Linked DNA regions of Homo sapiens: regions 1 and 2 are each linked to region 3. The links are contacts of gene promoters, found by promoter capture Hi-C in human tissues and cell types (Jung and others, 2019). All regions are on one chromosome and are shown on one strand. The core of a region is centred on a gene start or on the middle of the fragment in contact, and the rest is flanking DNA. Distances in the headings are between cores, read along the strand shown. Region 1 has its middle 57 kb from the start of RYR3-DT. Region 2 has its middle 33 kb from the start of FMN1. Region 3 holds the start of FMN1 (formin 1).

What was found. The method cuts DNA at HindIII sites, captures the fragments that hold promoters and counts their contacts. A contact is called where the count stands out against the background at its distance.
Region 1: a contact is called between a fragment that was not itself captured here and the fragment with the promoter of FMN1 in region 3, in 1 of the 25 tissues and cell types used here (aorta).
Region 2: a fragment that was not itself captured here is called in contact with the fragment with the promoter of FMN1 in region 3 in 2 of the 25 tissues and cell types used here (bladder and psoas muscle).

What each region holds. Positions count from the first base shown.
Region 1 is chr15:33,252,020-33,255,907 of GRCh38, forward strand. No RefSeq gene overlaps it. Among named protein-coding and RNA genes, the nearest start is that of RYR3-DT, 57 kb to the right of the region's middle. The HindIII fragment of the contact is 8,588 bases long and covers 1-3,888 here.
Region 2 is chr15:33,225,816-33,230,127 of GRCh38, forward strand. No RefSeq gene overlaps it. Among named protein-coding and RNA genes, the nearest start is that of FMN1, 33 kb to the left of the region's middle. RefSeq lists an enhancer at 913-962. The HindIII fragment of the contact is 3,929 bases long and covers 492-4,312 here.
Region 3 is chr15:33,191,941-33,196,157 of GRCh38, forward strand. It overlaps FMN1 (formin 1), which reads right to left and starts at 2,774. Exons shown (of 21, transcript NM_001277313.2): 1 at 2,638-2,774; 2 at 1,969-2,120. It overlaps LOC105370759 (a long non-coding RNA gene), which reads left to right and starts at 2,971. Exons shown (of 3, transcript XR_932090.3): 1 at 2,971-3,635. RefSeq lists silencers at 2,753-3,092, 2,867-3,076. The HindIII fragment of the contact is 9,448 bases long and covers 1-4,217 here.

The DNA.
Region 1 (3,888 bases), core at 313-2,812, 59 kb after region 3:
GATCTGGTTGGGGACACAGCCAAACCATATCAGTCACCTCTACTTCAGATATTCTGGTTTTTGCCCTGGACACCATCCTTGGGCTCTTCCTTAGTTTCACTCTGTCACCTATAAATCATACTCCCCAACTGTTTACCCAGCCTAGCACTTGGAACTGTAAATCCTGTATGTTTAGATAGGGCATGAAGGCTGTCTGAAGCTGCAAATCTTTTGTCATGATACAAATATGCTATGACCACTAAGTGGTCAACATAGTGAGCTTTGAGTTGATTTAATTGCCAGTAAATACATGGACCAGTAAACAAATTTACTAAGTAGTTGACTGAGAGAGAAAAGTTGGGGGAGTTTACTGCTAGAAACAAATATTTGGATGGGTTATGCTAATTAAAAATGGAAAGTTTGCACTCTGGATAGGGATAAATGAATTCACATGTTTGTACTAGGTAGATTAAGGCAAATGTCTTTGTTCACTGGCCAAGAAAGTGTTTTCACTTTGATCCAGTAGGGCTCTGGCATACTGGGATCTCTTAAAGGTCTTAGTCATTTGTCATCTTTGTAGAGTGAATTGCTCAAAGATGATAGTCTCCCTCTCTTTCTCTTTTAAACTTTTTATTTAGACATGTTTATAGGAAAACATAGCACCAAGGGGCCCCATGTACTCATTACACAGTTTTCCTCAAATACCTTTCATTTCCATAGTACAATATCAAAACCAGGAAATTGAGATTGGTGCAATGTGTGTAGATACCTCTATGACATTTTATCACAAGTGTAGATTGTGCAACCACCACAATGAAGATTCGGAACTCTTTCACCACCACAGAGATCATCCTCATACTACCTCCTTATAGGCACATTCACTTTCTTCTCCTCCACTATCCTTAAACACTAGCAGCCACTAATGTATTTCCCATATCTATAATTTTATTACTTACAGAATGTTCTATAAATGGAATCATATGGTGTGTGATCTTTTGAGATTGGCTTTTTGTTCCACTCTTTTTATCCCTGAAATCCATCCAAGTTGTTTCATGTATCAATAGTTTATTCCTTTTTATTGCTGAGTAACATTCTATGGTATGGATATAACACAGTTTGTTTATTCACCTGTTGAAGGACATTTTGCTAGCTTCTAGGTTTGGCTATTACAAATAAACCCGCTGTGAATATTGTGTACAAGTTTTTGTGTGGATGTAAATTTTCACGTCTCTGGGATAAATGCCCAGGAGTGTGATTACTGGGTTGTATCATAAATATATGTTTAATTGTTTACAAAACTGCCAAACTACTTTCTGGAGTGGCTGTAGCATCTTACACACCCACAGATAAATGTACAAGGGATCCAATTTCTTTGCATCCTTACTAGCGTTTGGTTTCATCATTTTTTATTTTAGCTATTCTAGTAGGTTTGCAGTAATAGCAGATCATGGTCTTAATTTGCATTTCCCTAAAATCTAATGAATTTAATCTTTTCATGTACTTATTTGCCATCTGTGTATCCTTTTTGGTGAAAGTTTCCTCATGTATCTTGCCCATTTTCTAATTGTATTGTTTGCTTTTATACTATTGAGTTTAGGGAATTCTTTATGCATTCTATCTATGAATACTTTATCATGTGTGCGACTTGTAAATATTTTCTTCCAGTCTGTAGCTTGTCTTTTCAGTGCCAAAGAGAGTTTTCACAAAGCAAATTTAAAAAATAATTCATGCCCAATTTATAGATTTTTTTTTTCTTTTATGGATTTGGTGTCATATCTAGGTCTCTTCACAAAGCTCTGGGTCCCTAGGATTTTCTCCTATGTTTTATTCTAAAAGTTTTATAGTTTTCTGTTTTACATTTAAATCTATGATCCATTTTGGGTTCATTTTTCTGGAAGATTTGAGGTTTATGTAGAGTGTTTTTTTTTTTTTTTTTTCCTGTGGTTGTCCAATTGCTGCAGGACCAGTTGTTGAAAAGGCTATCCTTCTTTCACTGAATTGGTTTGCACTTTTGTCAAAAGCCAGTTAGCCAAATGATTCTCTTTTAACAGTTTCAGCTGATTAGATCCAGTTGTAGTGATACAGCATTTTGTTTTCATATTCATAGGCAAATGCTGTCATAACTGGATTTTTTTCCTTTTCCATGGCATAGGCAGAATATAAATGTGTGATTAATTATACTTGAATTCCTAAGTAACTTTAGTAGCCCTCAAGCTAGGACAGATGCATGACTAGTTAGTAAACTCTGGATCTTTCTATGCCATATAACATATTTTGAAGCCTGGGTCTACATACATAAAAGCTTTTAAGAGTATGGACAGTATGTCCTTTTTCCTTAGTTCATTTCTATACAGTATAAAATCCATGAATATGAACCACTTGCTGGTGAATACAAACACAGATGCTCACCTGCTTTCTTGATAAATAGTTTCATTCATGCCATCCTAGCAAATAGAAAGAATGGTATCGGCAGGGTGCGATGGCTCATGCCTGTAATCCCAGCAATTTGGGAGGCCGAGGTGGGCAGATCACCTGAGGTCAGGAGTTCAAGACAAGCCTGGCCAACATGGTGAAACCCTGTGTCTACTAAAATTAAAAAAAAAAAATTAGCTGGGCTTCATAGTGCACACCTGTGATCCCAGCTACTCAGGAGACTGAGGCAGGATAATTGCTTGAACCTGGGAGGTGGAGGTTGCGGTGATCCAAGATCATGCCACTGCACTCCAGCTTTGGCGACAGAGCAAGACTCTGTCTCAAAAAAAAAAAAAAAAAAGTAAACAACAACAAAAAAATTAGCCAGGCATGGTGGTGTGCTCTTGTAGTCCCAGCTACTTGGGAGGCTGAGGCAAAAGAATCACTTGAACCTGGGAGGCGGGCGTTGCAGTGAGCCAAGACAGTGCCACTGCACTCCAGCCTGGGCTACAAGAGTGAAACTCTGTCTCAAAAAAAAAAAAAAAGAAAAAAGAAAAATATTATCTGTATCAAAGACCTTTTAGATGAGTCTAAAAATGATCAGACCGGCCAGGTGCAGTGGCTCACACCTGTAATCCCAGCCCTTTGGGAGGCTGAGGAGGGTGAATTGCCTGAGCTCAGGAGTTCCAGAACAGCCTGGCCAACATGGTGAAATCCCCGTCTCTACTGAAAATACAAAAAATTAGCTGGGCATGGTGGCGGGTCCCTGTAATCCCAGCTACTCAGGAGGCTGAGGCACAAGAATTGCTTGAACCCCAAAGGAGGAGGTTGCAGTGAGCCAAGATCATGCCACTGCACTCCAGCCTTGGCGACAGAGAGAGACTCTGTCTCCAAAAAAAAAAAAAAAAAAAAAAAAAAGATAAAAAAATAAAGAAAAAAATCAATCAATAAATACATAAACAAATACATAAAAATAATCAGCCCTTTGGACTTCCTATAGCTTTTCCTTCACCTAGCAGTTTGTCTTTGTAATAATGCAGCAGGGAGCTGTAAACTTCAGCAGCTTAAGAAACAGAATTGAAGACTCCTACTTACTGTTTCAAGTTCTTTTTTATTCTCAACAGCTTAATTTTATTGAGAACTGCTCCAGTTTTGTTCCAGTACCTGAGGCTGTAGTGAAGGTCTACGCTAATTTGTATAGCTGCAGAATGCAATTTTAACCTTTTTGTTTGAAATCCCACAAGTCAGAAGGGTTTTTGTTGTCATGCTATTCTAGTTCTCTGCAAATATCACATCTTGACAAGACAAATTGTTGCAGCGTCAGGAATTAACTGTCTTCTGACTAAGGTGAATTAATTTTCAATCACTGGATTGCGTACCTGGAAGAAGATAAAAATGTAGATTGAATATGTGTTTCAAAAGATCTTGCATTCCTTATTTTATATGCAAATATGTGAAAAATTAAATCTTTTGAGATTTAAAAGAGATCCAGTTATT
Region 2 (4,312 bases), core at 1,206-3,705, 34 kb after region 3:
TTAATCACCTCTGCAGAGGCCCACAGGAGGGAACATATTCACATGTTCTGGATTCTATGTTGTCACATTTGCAATGGACTGAATGTGTTCCCTCTAAAATTCCTATGTTAAGACTCTAATCTCACTGTGATGGTATTTGTGTGTGGGGCTTTGGGGAGGTAATTAGTTCATGAAGGCAGAGCCCTTGAGGATTAGTGCCCTTATAAGAACAGGCCAGAGAGCCAGCCAGCTCTTTCCTCTGTGTGAGGATACAAGTTAGCAGCCTGCAACCCAGAAGAGGGCTCTCACCTTAACTCAACCCTGCTGGCACCCTGATCTTGTATTTCCAATCTCCAGAACCGTGAAAAATAAATATTTGATAGTTTATGGTATTTTATTATGGCTGCCTGGGCTGACAACATCTTTGGGGGGGCTGTTATTCAGCCTACCATGTCGGGAAAGGGGCAATTTGTAGCTTTACCCTGATTTCTATATTCTCTCCACGTAGTGGGAAGAACCCAATATATTAAAGAGACTGTTATAATCAATGTAAGGTAGGTAGGAGCAAATACAGACCCAGTTGGAATTCAAGGCTGAAGATGCCAAAGCAGCTACAAATATGAAAAAATAATCAGGAAGGGTGGCTTCATATTAAGGTCCACTTTTTCTTCCTACATAGAAGGAATTTTCCCAATTTGGAAATAACTCTCCCCAGTTCTCTCTTGTCTTTATATAAGGAGTCTGGAGGTTACCAAAAGTGCTTTCAGAGCAGTGGTTTGCAGCCTTGGCTGTACATTGGAATTAAGGCAGGAGAAAAGGGAATTAGGGTAACCAAAGATTAAGGCATAAGCAAAAGAACAGCAGGTGCAGGCAGTTCTAGCCAAGATTGGGCAGCATACAAGCCACATCCTCCTTCCTGTGATAACAAGACAGAAGTTTCCACTTCAGACTCTGATTGGCCTCAGGTCAATTTTTCATAGACTGCCACCAGTTGGAGGCCTCTAGAGGGCACCTAGGGGTATTGCCAAGTTCTTTTGGCTTTATAAATACCCTGGGGAGCATTGCAATAGGGAGGCTCTTGAGCCACTTGCTCAAGTCTGCTCCCACTCTGTTAATCGTACTTTTGCATCTTCAATAAATTTATGCCTTTATTACTCTACTCTTTTATTTTGTCTTTTGTTGCTTCTTTTGTTGCTTTGTTTGTGCATTTTGTTCAATTCTTTGTTCAATACGCCAAGAACCTGGAAAACTCACAGTCAAGACGTTCTATCTAGTGATGGAATCACCTGGAGGAGCTTTTCAAAGATACCAATACCCCTAAATAAAATCAAGATATCTGGAGTTGGGGCCCAGGCATGAATATTTTAAACTGTCCCTGGGTGATTCTGATGTGTTACTAGGGTTGAGAATCAGCTATAAAGGAAGTAACAGGATTCCTCTTCCGGAGGCCCACAAAATTTTCTCTCTCTCTCTCTTGCAAATACTTCACTTTGTTCTGAGTATTTCTGGGAATCAATGGTTTTGAAGGTTTAAACATTTAGAAGGTTTACCCTTGGGGAGCCCTCAGGACTATCTTGTACTTTCTCTTCTTCCGCAGTCGTGTCAATACCTAATCCACTGGAGACCAAAGTTTATTGATTCTTTTAAACTCTTTCTTGCATACCAGATATAAGTGGATAATAAATAAAGTTTCTTGAACAACTAGTAATCAAGTAAGCTGCTGTAAGACTTTCTCTGCTGGGATAATGAACTCCAAATAATCGAAGGATCAATTTACCTCTAGCCTCTCCCCCAGGCAATTAAGATATTTAAAGCCTGAGGGCACATTTTAATTTCCGTCTTTTACCTTTCCTCAGTTAGAAGGCCCTTCCTCCTCCATCTCCATGAGTTGAAATCATATCTCTTGGTCAATTCCTGTATCAAATGACACCTCTCCCATTAGCTCCTTTTTGTTCATCTTTTTCCTTTGAGCCTTTTTGTATTATCTTGATGACACTTCCCTCATGCTTCTTTGCATTTGTTAGTACTTTCCTTTTTCCTTGTGAATAGAATATAAACTCTTTTGAAGTAGGATTATATAATAAAATATACAATCCTCTCATGCCTATTTTTCCTAGCAAAGTAATGCAGGTGAAGGGACATAAAAATTCCTAATGGACATTTTCTCTTTTAAGATTGATCACTGGTGATCTTCCCAGTAGGATAAAACCTTGGGGAGAAGATGAGTTTTCCATTACATGAGAAGTCACTGGAAGACTATATTTCAGGCCCATTGTTGACTTATAAATTCTCTAGATTAGAAATACTCAGACCATGCCTGGAGAGACAGGTGAATCTTTCAGCATCCAAACCTTAGATTCATCTCTTATTTCCAGACTACAGTACTGACTGTGGACTGTGTAGGGTGTAAACTGTCAGGGGGTTTTGTTTAAAGTTGACTGTAAATGTAGTTCCAGGTTTAGCTGACCTGGAAGGTAGGAAATCTCCTAACCACCTACATTTTCAGCAGAGAAATTCTAGCAAAGGCAAGGATTCATATCCAGGAAATCTATTTCCTTGCCCATCAGACTCTCTTAGACTTTCCCCATCCACCACACGGCCCTAGCCCTCGCCCTCGCCCCATCTTTCCACCCCTGAACTCCTAAGAACTGCTGAAAGACACTGCTATAGCTCTCTCCACTCTTCTGTGTCTGCTCAGTGGGGCTGATAAATTCAGGATCTGAAAATCCTTAAGTTAGATTCAGACTTCACCAATCTACTGAAAAACCCTCCAAAAGAAAAATAAATCCCAACCTCCAAGCAGGGGATCACCCTATTTACACTACTGGAAAATCATCCCTCTGCTGGCTAAGGATAGATGACCCCACACTGGGGCAGATTTGCCAGCTGAGAGCCATGGGATAGCAGCCTGGAAAGGAAGGCTTTTACAGCCCAAGAAAATGGAGAAGGACCTGCCTGTTCATGGGCCCTGCCACAGAGCTGGAAGCTCTTGAGTTTGGAGACCACAGACCCTTCAGGATTCAAACTCATTGAACCCCAAGAGGGGATATCTTCATCTGTTTGGCCTGCTATATAACAAAGTATCATAGACTGGGCAGCTTATAAACAACAGAAATTAATTTCTCATAGTTCTGGAGGTTGGAAAGTCCAAGACCAAGGTACCAGAAGATTTGATTTCTGATTTTCCTGCTTTCTGGTTCATGGATGACCATTTTCTTGCTTTGTACTCACATGGCAGAAGGAGCAAGGGAGCTCCCTGAGGTCCCTTTTGTAATGGCACTAATCCTTCTGCCCCCATCACCCAATTACCTCCCAAAGGCCCCACCTCCAGATACCATCACATTGGGGATTTTAATCTCAGCATGTGAATTTTGGGGAGACACAAACATTCAGTTTATTCAGGGGGCAACTGATGGTCTTTTAAGCTGACACTCACACACAAAGGGTGATGACCTTAGTGTAAAGACAAGGATTTCAAAGGAGCTGATGAAAACCTAACCAGTAAATATGTATGTTGTGTGGGATAAAGATCAACCATGAACATTTCAAATGGGCCTTACAAGAGAGCAACCTGCAGGGAATAATGTCACCCCTGGAGTGGGTTGGGATTCCCCAAGTCCAGTTATTTTATACTAAAAATTATTGCCTGAGAAGGTCATGGTTATGTGTGAGAAATAAAGCCTTACATGCCTACCCCGACAGCCAACTCAGACAAGGCTGCTCTTGGTGGAGTCATCTTTCAAAGGATTACTTTAGCTTCCTGGTTAGCCCTGAATTCAATGCCCTCACTCTTCTTCAGTTGACGGCTGGGCGCAGTGGCTCATGCCTGTAATCCCAGCACTTTTGGAGGCTGAGGCGGGCAGATCACTTGAGGTGAGGAGTTAGAGACCAGCCTGGCCAACATGTTGAAATGCCGTCTCCACTAAAAAAAAAAAAAAGCTAGCTGTGGTAGTGGCACATCCATGTAATCCCACCTGCTAAGGAGGCTGAGGCAGGAGAATTGCTTGAACCCAGAAGGTGGAGGTTGTAGTGAGCCAAGATTGCATCACCGCTGTCCAGCATAGGTGACAGAGCAAGACTGTCTCCAAAAAATAAAAAAGACAATGGCCTAATAATTCCTTTAAGTCCCCCCGATCCCCTATGGAACCCAGCCCTTCCATTTTTTACTCATACTAAGGTATAAATGGCCTGTGATGCTTTAATAAAGCATTTATCCAAAGCTTTTTAAAATCTTTAATGGGAATTATTAAACTAGAAGAATAATTGGGCTCCAAAGTAAAATTTACGACAATGAATAGAAGGATTTTGGGTCCCTATACTATCTTTGAACAAA
Region 3 (4,217 bases), core at 1,524-4,023:
ATTTAAGACAGAGACTATGTACATCTAAAAATAATAGCTACTCTTAAAACCAGGTCCCAAAAAGAGATTATGAATAGCCCCTAAACGTGGTCATACTACCAACCAGTAGCATCACTGCAAGATATGAAATATCCATTATGAACTTTTACACTGATACGAATAAAGTTTTAATAAGAAAACCATTAAAGGCAAGATCATCTAAAGCACACCACAGCTTGGGATGGTGTGCATGAATCCAAAACTTTAACGTAAAACTAGACTTTGAGGCATGGTATATGAGATAGGAGAGAAGCATTTCTCAATTTTCTATCAAGGATATTTACCATCATCACATCAAGTTCCAGTCTGTCCCCATTCCTCTTCCTCTGGGAACAGCTCCACCAATTTTATGTCTGGAAAGGGAGGATGACCAGGATATGAGACCTACCCTTAGACAATCATAGGTCCTATGGGACCCCATTCCCTTGGCCAAAGCATTTGGTCTAGGCAGGGTTAAGCCTGTGACAAAGGCTTCATCAATCACAGTCAATGCATTGAACACTCAGTGAGAAAGAAGCAGTCTAGAATAGGGCCAGAGGCCTGGAAATCTTCTCTAAAGCTGCATCTTTAACGTATCTCAACTAAGAATCGGCTAAGTACTTGTGAAGGCTGGTGAGAGAAATGCCTGTCCAAACACAGGTGGCTTCAATAGTGGCACCCCTCTAAGATGTAGTGCTATAAGGAACCTGAAGACTACCATACCCCATTTGCATCAGCTCTGACACCTAAAAAGGATAAAGACAATGGAAAAAAATGCATAATTTTTAGGAACGAGACTGGCCTTTATTATCCTTCTTGACTAGTATTATTAATAGCAGTTACTATAAATTCCCCACTTATGTGCCAGAAACTACTGAGTATTTTACCTATATTATCTCGTTTAATCCTCACACCTTCTCCTAAGAGACAGGTAGTATTATCCCTATTTTACAGACGAGAAATTAAAATTAAAGAGGCAAGCAACTTGCAAAAATCACTGAGCTAGTCAGTGGCTGGTCCAGGATTTGAACCTATGTCTGACAGGTTTATGAGTTTAGCCATTACAATATACTGTCTCACTACTCTTCTCCATTGTTTCCCTCCATTGAGGCCATTGCTTCTTTGTTCCTGCAATATGTCTAACTATTCATTGGTCCTGCTCCTGGACTGTAACACAGTTGAGAGAAAGGAGACTAGTGTTTAGATATCTGATCAAGAAGACCCGAGACCTCATTGATTCATTGTGGAAGCAACATCTTCCACAACGACAGTTAATCTGGTATGCAATTCTCAGCTATACTGTTTTCCCTCCCAAAAAAGGGTTAATAAGTCTGTGATCCAAGAGATTTGCAGTAAGCCCTAGAAACAGCTAAGCAACGGCTGTTGAATCCCATTGGTGTGCCTATAAGATGCTACCTGGTGTAGAGAACAGAATATAATTCTCTCTCCTAGGAATTTAGATGCGCCCCTCCGCCCCCCTGCCAATACACACGCAAGGGGGCATAGCAGATGATGGCACATGTCCCATATGCAAACATGAATAGTAAACATGCTTTAGTACAGCTGGAGCTACTGTAGCAGAAAGTCAGGTTGTCTGCTACTCCACCTGGTCTTCTTAAAGGATTGGGTCTGGACATTCACCTCTCAGTGACTGCCACTCCCCATATATATCACAGGTTCAGGCTCTGCATTCAGCCCATTCGGAGTGTGTGAGTGCTAACATGGAACTCTCCAGGAGACAGCAAGCAGAAATGTGGATGATTAAAATAAAGGGTTTTCTTTGGCAATCTCAATTGCAAATGAGGATAAGGAAAATCCTCCCAGCTCACACTCTGCTCCCAGCTACTTGTTCTTGAGTTAAATGAGGGCTTGGCTCTGGCCTCAGGGGGCAAGAGCACTGTTCGTTATTTGGTGGTGGGGGAGGGGGTTGGGGGATCCGTCAGCACTTACATGCCTTTAGAGAATCTGCCTTTACAGAACTTGAAGAGCTCTGATGGAGGAACAGAGATGCTGTGGTGGTAGTGGCCTTGGAGGTGGTGGTAGTGGCAATGGTGATGATGATGATGATGAAAGAAGAAGAAAACGGTGATGGTAAATGTCATCTATAAACACAAGCAAAAAGCAGCAACAGATACCTTTCTAGTCATTGCCAACCATAGTCATGAAGCTGCTTCTGTTCCCAATGCAATCCCATTGTGGTGCTCCCCCTCTGCGCTAAACACATCCAGCTTCAAAAAAAAAAAAAAAAAAAAAAAAAAGCTCTGCATCTCTCCGTCCCCCGCCCTCCCGCCCTCCCGCCCTCCACCTTTCCTGTGCCAAGCTGGGAATGAGACTGCACTGGCGGGTCAAGGGGGCTGGGACCTGAGAGTCAACGACAGGAGTTCTGTAGTGAGGAGCGTTGGGATGACCCGGAGGGCCCACCAACGTACTTGGGAGCAGCTTGGTGGGGGAGCTGGAGGAACCGACACAGAAGGGGAGGAAGATAAGCTGGCGGGGTAAATAGACTTGATGCCTCATTCCAAGAACCCTGAAAGCCACGGGGGAAGGCGGAGCAGGCAGCCTTTGGTCGGGAAGAAGAGACGGGCAGATGGCCAGCAGAACAGACAAGACTCTCTTTACCTGACCAATACTCGGGAGGCTGGTCCCGAGTCCCAGCTACTCGGGAGGCTGAGGCAGGAGGATTGCTTACGGCAACAGCCGTGGCGGCTGCAGCCTCGAAGGATGCTGCGCTCCAGTCCAGAGCCAAAGCCCAAAGGGGCAGCTGCGCCGACCTCCACCGAGGCTCCGCCCCACAGGCCACAGGCCCCGCCTTCCTAGCACGCGCCGGCCTGACGAGCTGTTTGGGGGAGGTGAGCAGTAAACTGATCGGCAGGGCTGAAGACCAGTGGAAACGTGCAGCGGCGCCCGAGGTGGCAGGGGAGGCGGGGCGGGAGGCGGCGGTGCCCAATCAGCAGCCGAGCCGTTGGGCCAGGCTGGGAAGCAGTGCTGTCTTTTGGCACCGTCTGATCCGGGCTGAGGGATTGAAGGCGGTGGTCGCTAAGCTAGGTCTAAGACGGACAGCCAGGGCGACAACCAGTCTCTCGCTACGTGTCCCCAGCTTCCCTGTTTCCGAGCGCCTCTCAAGGCGCACGCTCTGGACTTGTTCAGATGGGGGAAGGGAACTGGTCTGGAACTCCCCACTATTCCCGAGGTTCCCACGCCTCCAGATCCGGAGAGGCCGTTTCGCTCCAGTGGCCTGGCCCCCCTGCCCCCTCAGCCTAGCCGTTCTTGATCGTAAGTGCTAAAAGGAACAAAGAAGGAGAATTCAAGAATCCACACATAAGCCCAAACCCTGACAGGAGCCTTTTCCTCTCCCATCTCCTGCCTACGCTTCCTCCTAGTAGCTTTTTAACTGCTGGCGGTTAAGTTACTTTGACTGGTTTGAATTAAACGCAAAATAGGTTTAGGCTGAGAAATGGGCCAGACCCTTGGCGATCTGAGAAAGAAAGACTGAGTCCGGATGTCAAGAGGCCTGGGCCTCACGAGGGAGTTTGTCTGCTTATTTGAACACCTCAGAGTTGAAGATCTTGTTACTGCTATTTCTGTGCTGGTGAATCAGTACAGACCTTGATGCCAAGGTACTGTTTTGTCCCCAAGTGTCTAATCATTACTGAAATGAACTACCTTCAAACCTTTCCTAAGAGGATTTGAGGCCTTAATGTCGTTGAGATTTGGAATGTGATTTGAGTGACACTGAGATCTTTTCCAAGTAGGTAGGCAAGAAAAGGCATTGTCTTTAATCTGCTTTTGGATAAATGCGAACTGTATCACCCATTTGGTACTTGAAGATAGAATTTTGTCCTGAATAGATTCTGTTTTCAAATAAGTAAATGGGAAAAAAATTTGGAAGGTATTTTTAAGGTGATTTTTTTCACTATTTTTTTTCTAGAAATAATAGTTTATTGGAACTCTGATTTATTCTTAATCACAATATTAGCCAAACACTGATAGGCCCTTTATTTATTTGTTTTTTTAACACACGGTCTCACTCTGTCACCCAGGCTGGGGTGCAGTGGTGCGATCTTGGCTCACTGCAGCCTCAACCCCGTGGGCTAAAGCCATCCTCCCAACTCAGCCTCCAAAGTACCTGGGACTACAGGCGGGCACCACCATGTCCAGCTAATTTTTTAATTTTTTATTTGTAGGGACAGGGTTTCACC